Linked DNA regions of Homo sapiens: region 1 is linked to region 2. Evidence: promoter capture Hi-C in human tissues and cell types (Jung and others, 2019). All regions are on one chromosome and are shown on one strand. The core of a region is centred on a gene start or on the middle of the fragment in contact, and the rest is flanking DNA. Distances in the headings are between cores, read along the strand shown. Region 1 has its middle 12 kb from the start of ABCD3. Region 2 holds the start of DR1 (down-regulator of transcription 1).

What was found. Contacts are between HindIII fragments. The study calls those that stand out against the background at their distance.
Region 1: a contact is called between a fragment that was not itself captured here and the fragment with the promoter of DR1 in region 2, in 1 of the 25 tissues and cell types used here (hippocampus).

What each region holds. Positions count from the first base shown.
Region 1 is chr1:94,404,461-94,408,106 of GRCh38, forward strand. It overlaps a transcript of ABCD3 not described here and the pseudogene RPL21P26. Among named protein-coding and RNA genes, the nearest start is that of ABCD3, 12 kb to the right of the region's middle. The HindIII fragment of the contact is 6,783 bases long and covers 1-3,646 here.
Region 2 is chr1:93,344,270-93,348,133 of GRCh38, forward strand. DR1 (down-regulator of transcription 1) reads left to right here and starts at 1,638. Exons shown (of 3, transcript NM_001938.3): 1 at 1,638-2,596. The coding sequence starts at 2,377. CCDC18-AS1 (CCDC18 antisense RNA 1) reads right to left here and starts at 1,542. Exons shown (of 9, transcript NR_034089.1): 1 at 1,455-1,542. RefSeq lists enhancers at 1,233-1,768, 2,138-2,207, 2,268-2,477. The HindIII fragment of the contact is 15,958 bases long and covers 26-3,864 here.

The sequences.
Region 1 (3,646 bases), core at 1,146-3,645, 1.1 Mb after region 2:
TAATATGAAATAAAATCAGTTTCATTTGTTGTGGTTTGCTTTCAGTTTTTCATTTTTTCCTTCTTATTCTTATTCATTGAATTTCATTTCTGAATATGTAGAATGTAATCATGCTTCCAAGAGTCAAGCTTATGCAAAAAGATAGTCTCAGAGAAGTGTTACTCTTTTACATCCCTTCCATTCTATTTCTGCATCCCCTTGTAGGTCACAAATTTCATTGTTATCTGATTTTTCATCTAGTATTACTTTTCGCAAAGTTAAATAAATATATGTATATATCTTTATTTTCCCTTCTTTCATATGTTAAAGTTAGCATCCTTCATAAGCTCTTTTGCTTTTATAAAAAACTTAATTATACCTCCTGGAAATTATTTCATTTCAGTTCCTAGAAATCTTCCCTATTTTGAGGCGGAGGTTGCAATGAGCTGATATTGCGCCGCTGCACTGCAGCCTGGGTGACAGAGCGAGACCCATCTCGAAAAAAAAAAAAAGAAAAAAAAAAACAAACAGAAAAGAAATCTTCCCTATTATAGTTTGTGTAGCTGCATAGAACTCATTATGTGTATATACCAAAGATTAATTAGTGTCCTATACTTGAACAGTTGGTTTGTGTTCAATATTATGCTATTTCAAAATAATCTTGTGCATATTGCATTTTTGTATTTTTGGGTGTGTATCTACTTCCTAGTATATGTAAATTCCAAAAGGTAACACTCTAGGGTAAATGCCTGTATAGTTTTATATTTGAATCTGTGTAGCCAAATTCCCCTCAATTGCTTTTCATTCCTACCAGCAATGCATGAGGGTATTTATTTTCTCCATACCTTGCCACATAGTAACATTATCAAGCTTTTTTTTTTTTTTTTTGAGACGGAGTTTCACTCTTGTCGCCAAGGCTGGAGTGCAATGGCCCCATCTTGGCTCATCACAACCTCCGCCTACTGGGTTCAAGCAATTCTCCTGCCTCAGCCTCCCGAGTAGCTGGGGTTACAGGCATGCACGCCTGGCTAATTTTGTATTTTTAGTACAGACAGGGTTTCTCTATGTTGGTCAGGCTGGTCTTGAACTCCCCACCTCAGGTGATCCACCTGCCTCGGCCTCCCAAAGTACTGGGATTACAGGCATGAGACACCGCCATTATCAAGCTTTTGAATTTTTTTGCTAAAGTTGTGGGTGAGAAACTGACTTTAGTATAGTTTATCTTGCATTTCTTTATTAGGAGCGATGTTGAACATCTTCCAACGTGTTTAAAGACCAGCTTTTGTATCTCTTTTTGTAAATTGTCTGTTCTTGTCATTTGCCTATTTTTCTGTAGGATTTTTGGTCTTTTTCCTTAAGTTTTATAAGTTCTTTATCAGTTAGGGATACTGATTTTTTATTTGCAATGTAGGCTGCAAATGTTTTCTTCTAGTTTGTTGTTTGCCTTTTGACTTTGCTTATGGTTTTTGGCATGCCAAAGTTTAGAAATTTTTAAAAATTATATTTATCAATTTTTTCTTTTAGTGCATTTGAATTTTTAGTAACAGAAAACCTTTTCTGATATCTAGATTACAGAGGTATTTACCCATGTTTTCTTGTTGTACTTGTGTAATTTTATTTTCCACATTTATATCTGTGATCCATGTGGAGTTTATTCCTGTGTATGGTCTGAGGAAGGAATTTAACTTTTTTTCAAATGGTTATCCAGCGATCTCAACACCATTTATTAAAAAAAAAAACAACTATATTTGCCTGAGTGAGAAGGGATATTACCTTTATCATACACTAAATTTTTATATGCACTTGTCTCCATTTCTGGACTTTCCATTCTGTCGATCTGTCTATTCATGTACTAGTACCACACTGTTTTAATGATAGAGTCTTTATAGTATTTTGTTTTGTTTTTTTTTTTTTTTTTACAGTCCAGTGGGTTGTTGTTGTTGTTTTACACTTACTATGCCATGAATTCATAGGGAATAGGTTACAGCAGCTCAGGTTCCTTTCCAGTTTTTCTCACAAAGTGTGCTTCTCTGGGTGGAACAGGCTGGCGCTTCAGTTGAATCCAGGTACCTTTCTCTTTGGCTCCCTTCTTTTTCTGATCATTTTCCTTCTTGCGTTTCAGGAAGCTATCTCAGCTCTTAGAGTATGTAATGATGTAATGTGCTCAGTACACACACTGATTCTCTTGATAAGAATCTTGTCCTTAAAGTATTGGTTTATAGCAATGTCAACAACATCCTGAGAACATCGTAGACTTCCAGTTATGGCATGGTAACACTTGTGCCGTGTTCCTTTTTCAACAAGTGCCCATCTCCTTGATGTTTATGACTTAACTTTTCTGATAGATTTGCATGTATGTGGCCAAAGGAGCAATGCCATGTTTCCTAAAAAGCCTGGAGAACATGTATTGGGTGGCTCTCCTCTTTCTCTTTGTGTTCATCATCTTGGCGAATGACTGAAAGATGGTGGTTACAGCCAAAAGGCTATAGTATGTTTCACTATCTAGTGGGGCTATAACCTGCCTTTTCAGTTGCTCTTTGATGTTTATTTTCCCCTATAAACTTTAGGATGAACTTGTCTACCTTCATAAAAACAACAACAACAACAACAACAACAAAAAACCTCATAGGATTTTTTTCTTAAAATTGCATTAAGCTTATAAATTAGCTTAGGGAGAACTGACATACTGATGATATTGAAACATCCTTTTGTTTTTGTTTTTGTTTTTGAGACGGAGTTTTGCTCTCACTGCCCAGGCTAGAGTGCAATGGCCCGATCTCAGCTCACCGCAACCTCCACCTCCTGGGTTCAAGGGATTCTCCTGCCTCAGCCTCCCGAGTAGCTGGAATTACAAGCATGCACCACCATGCCCGGCTAATTTTGTATTTTTAGTAGAGATGGGGTTTCTCCATATTGGTCAGGCTGGTCTCAAACTCCTGATCTCAGGTGATCCGCCCGCCTCGACCTCCCAAAGCGCTGGGATTACCAAGCACAAGGGGTGTCTTTCTATTTGCTCAAGTCTTCTTTTCTGTGTTTCAGGAATGTTTTGTAATTTTCTTCATATAGGTTTTGCACATTTCTTGTAAGTTTATTCCTAAATATTTTATCTTTTTTGTTTCTATTATAAATGGGGCTTTCTCAACCATTGTATCTTACAACTGGTTGTGATTTGTGTATGTGAATATTATCCAGCTCATCAGGAGCACCAGGCTAGACTAAAAACTGAGGAATCTGGATCTCGAGTTTGTTCTTGGTAGTTATTTTATAATCAATTCATTCCTGCTGCTAAAGCGATGGTCAGCAAACTATAGCCTGTGGACCAAATCTGGCCTACCTTCTGTTTTTGTATGGCCTGCAAGCTAAGAATGGCTTTTACATTTTTAAATGGTCAATAAAGAAACAACAACAAACAAAAAATAATATTTCTTGACATTTGAAAACTACAGGGAATTCGAATTTCAGAGTCCATAAATAAAGTGTTATTGGAACACAGCAATGCCGATTCATTTATATTATTGTCTTTGGCTGTTTTCCTGATACAACGGCAGAGCCGAATAGTGGTGGCTGAGGTTCTCTGGCCCATGAAGCCTGAAATATTTATTACTTGGCCCTTTGCAGAAAAAACGTACAGAACTTTTCCTGAAGGAACTCATTCTCTAAGAGATGC
Region 2 (3,864 bases), core at 388-2,887:
GCACTGAAAAACAAGTGTCTACACTTCAGAAATTAAAGAACCAGTAAGTTGTCCTGCAGAAAATGCTAAATGAAAAAATAGCATAATAAACTGTAATGTCTTCTTGAGAGCAGCATATAGGGCTCAGACAGAACGTTTTAAGAAAACACTGTCAACAAGCCAGTTGCCATCATATGTATCAAGAGTAATGAATCTGATGAACCAAAGTGACAAAATGGATTTCAACAGTGTCTTGTTTAGTTTTTAGAAATTCCAACATCCCACTATTTATAGTATAGCCTCTTCTTCCACATGACAGTATGACAGACTCAGTTTTTTTACTTTTTTTTTTTTTTTATCTTTTTTGAGACAAAGAATCTTGTTCTGTCACCCAGGCTGGAAGTGCAGTGGCACAACCGCAACTCACTGCAGCCTTGACCCCCTGGCTCAATCGATCCTCCCACCTCGCCCTCCAGAGTAGCCGGGACTACGGGTGCCTGCCACCAAGCCTGGTGAAAAAAAAACCCGTGTTTCATATTGTCATATAGAAGAGGCTATACTATAAACAGTGGGATGTTGGAATATATATTTATATATATAAATATATATTATATATATATATATATATATTTTTTTTTTTTGTAGGGACGGGTCTCACTATGTTGCCCAGGCGGGTCTTGAACTCCTGGGCTCATGTGATCCCCCTGCCTCAGCCTCCCAAAGTGTTGGGTTTACAGGTATGATGAGCCACAACGCCTGGCTGACACACTTTTTTTTTTTTTAAATGCAATTTCTGTTTAGACCTTGACACCTGTTGATATTACTAGTCACTATGGAAAGAAGTAAAAACAGTTGCTTAAGATGCTCTAACACTTTTTTCCCCTGTAGAAGCCAACATGGAATACAACATGAAAACTGTCTAAATGGGAACCTTCTAATATAGCTCATTGTATGCCATGCATTTCCACTCCATTTCCACTATGTTGGAACTGACTTCTGCTTTCCTACTTAGCCATTAGGCGACTTAGTTGCCTCTAGGCAAGTAACTTCTCTGAAATGTTTCATTTTTCATGAAGTTTAAAAAAAAAAAGGTGAAGGACTTTAGAGAGCTTTGAACCGAATAAGGTCTATCAGACATCTTGAAAAGCTTTTTCTCCAGACGACGCAGAAACAGGCACACGGGGTTCTGCTTTCCCCACCTCCCACCCCCAAGCCCAGGTCCCATTCTTCTCACTTTCAATCCTCATTTGGGCTCCTAAAGGAATAGCAAAGAGAGTTATTTTATCAATACCAGCGCTCCTCTGTCCCCAAATCCAGCTAGGGAAGGTTTCGGAGGCCTCAGCTACTTGAGAGAGGGTAGAGACGATCCTTCCTCGCCTATCTACCCAGCCACCCACCCCTTCCCAGATGTAGCGTCCGGGCCCCAGACCAAGCGCGTGCTTGGAGCTCTCCGGTACAGTGAGGCGCGCGCTTGCCTGGCTAGGGTCCCTGTGAAGGAATGGGATCCCGAGGTGCTTGCCAGGACCGTAGCAGGCGGAAGCTGCTGGCAGCGCGAACGGGCGGCTCCCGCCGGCGTGGGTGGGGGAAGGGCGGCAGCCACACCCGGAAGTCGGTCCGGGAGGGAGGGGGAAATCTGAGGGAACGAGGCTTCCGGTGGCGCAAAGGGTGTCGGGAGCGGCTTCCTGCAAACCTTCCCTGGCATCTGGAGGGACCACCGTTGCCGCGTCTTCGGCTTCCACGATCTGCGTTCGGGCTACGCGGCCACGGCGGCAGCCACTGCGACTCCCACTGTGCCTGGCTCTGTCCATATTAGTTCCCAGGCGGCCGTCGCCGTTCCAGCAGCGGCAGCGGCAGCGGCAGCGGCGGACATGTTGTGAGGCGGCGGCGCGGGTGTCTGAAGGATGGTTTGGCCGAGGCGGCGGCAACGGCTGCTGGCGGCGGCGGCAGCGGCAGCGGGGCCTCGGGCTCTATAGAGCCGAGCCCGCTGGGTACCCGCCCGGTACCGCGGCGAGGCCAGTGCCCCTGGATCTTGCCTCTGCTCCGACGCCGTTGGGGACCAGTTAGGCGACAGCGCCCGCCCCTCTGAGGAGACACGAAGGTGGTTCCCCAGCCGCTCAAATTTCCGGACCACCGCGCTTTCCCCTCCTCAGCCTGGGCTGTGCTCTCTCTAGAATCCTCGGGCCCCCACTTTCTTCCCAAACTCATCCTAAATCTCTCACACACGCGAGTGTTCCCAGCCCTCAAGCCAGCTGCTCCTCCGTTCATTTTCTGCACCCTCTTCGCAAAGCACCCCCCGGGATCACTCTCCGAGGGCGACTTTTTGAGAAATCTCGGTGGAGTAGTGGACCAGAGCTGGGGAGTTTTTAAAAGCCGGGGCGCGAGAAACAGGAAGGTACTATGGCTTCCTCGTCTGGCAACGATGATGATCTCACTATCCCCAGAGCTGCTATCAATAAAATGATCAAAGAGACTCTTCCTAATGTCCGGGTGGCCAACGATGCTCGAGAGCTGGTGGTGAACTGCTGCACTGAATTCATTCACCTTATATCTTCTGAAGCCAATGAGATTTGTAACAAATCGGAAAAGAAGACCATCTCACCAGAGCATGTCATACAAGGTAAGTCGTGTGTGAGAGCTGGTTTGAATGAGGTTCTAGGGTAGCAGTCTGCTAATCGCGTGACCCTTTCGTGTCAAAGCCTCCATTCCTCTTCCCTGGTAAGTAACTTAATGAAAAAGCCAGACTGGCATGTAGGCAGCCGGTGCTTTAAAAACAATCCCTTTGTAGCATTTTTGCAGTACTTTTCATCCAGCGAATACATGTAAGGAGTGCAAACATTTAGGTCAGCGTCCCCAAAACGTAAAGAATAAGAGTGATCTCACTTTACAGCCAGGTAAGCCGAAGCAACAAGAATTACTTGCCTGAAGTTGAACTTAGATAATAATTAAGGAACGCAGAAATTCTCCTTTGGAAAGTTAAAATTCAGACGGAGGAACTTCAACGTGGGTGGAGACAGAGCACCCCCTTCCCCACCTGACCTTTCACCAATGTAGAGGAAAAGATTTATTTTCTGAACACATGAGTTAAAAAATTCTTAACATACAATGTGTTCAACGTTGTCAAGTTTATCGTTGTTAAATAAAAGGTGTATGTTTTCTGCTCTAAAAATGGTTTGATGGTACGTTCATGAATGAGTTACCAAATAACTCCTGTTCCATTCTGTAAGAATAGGGTGAACTTTAAATTTTCGTTTTTTTCTTTTCGTTTGCTTTTATGTCGTTTGCTTTGTTCTATTCTGTGGAGATAAGTTTTGAAATCTTTGATTGAAAGTTTATGCAAGTTTTTTTTTTAACGGAAAATTTCCCCGTCCTTTCCTGCTGTCATTCCTATTTGAATGTATACACTTAGGCTTTTATGGAACAGCACTTCTGAAAACTTCAACAGTTTCTTTTATCCTGGAAAGGATTTGGTCCCGTAATAGGGATTTGGGGGACTGTATTCTGGTGGTTTCAGAGAGGAGAAACATATTTACTATTCATAATGTTTCGGGAACGTACCTTTTGCGATATTTTTACATGTACTCTTGTGAAAGAGTTGTACTCAATTTGAGGTGAGAACTTGCCTTTTGTAATAATCTAATTAAAGTTATTGATTGCTTGTGAAATCAGGGAAAAATGATTAATTTTAATCATTTTGATAGGCAGGTGGTTGTCTATCACTTAATTTTTATAATTTAACTTTTTAAAATGTGACTTTCCTGTTGTACTGAAGTAGAGAACACATCTGCTTATATTGACCATATCCAATATTTTACTCTCAGTATTGACAAAAGGATTAAATGATTCATTTTTAATCCTTTATGACGTCTTGAAAGTAGTTTTAAAATA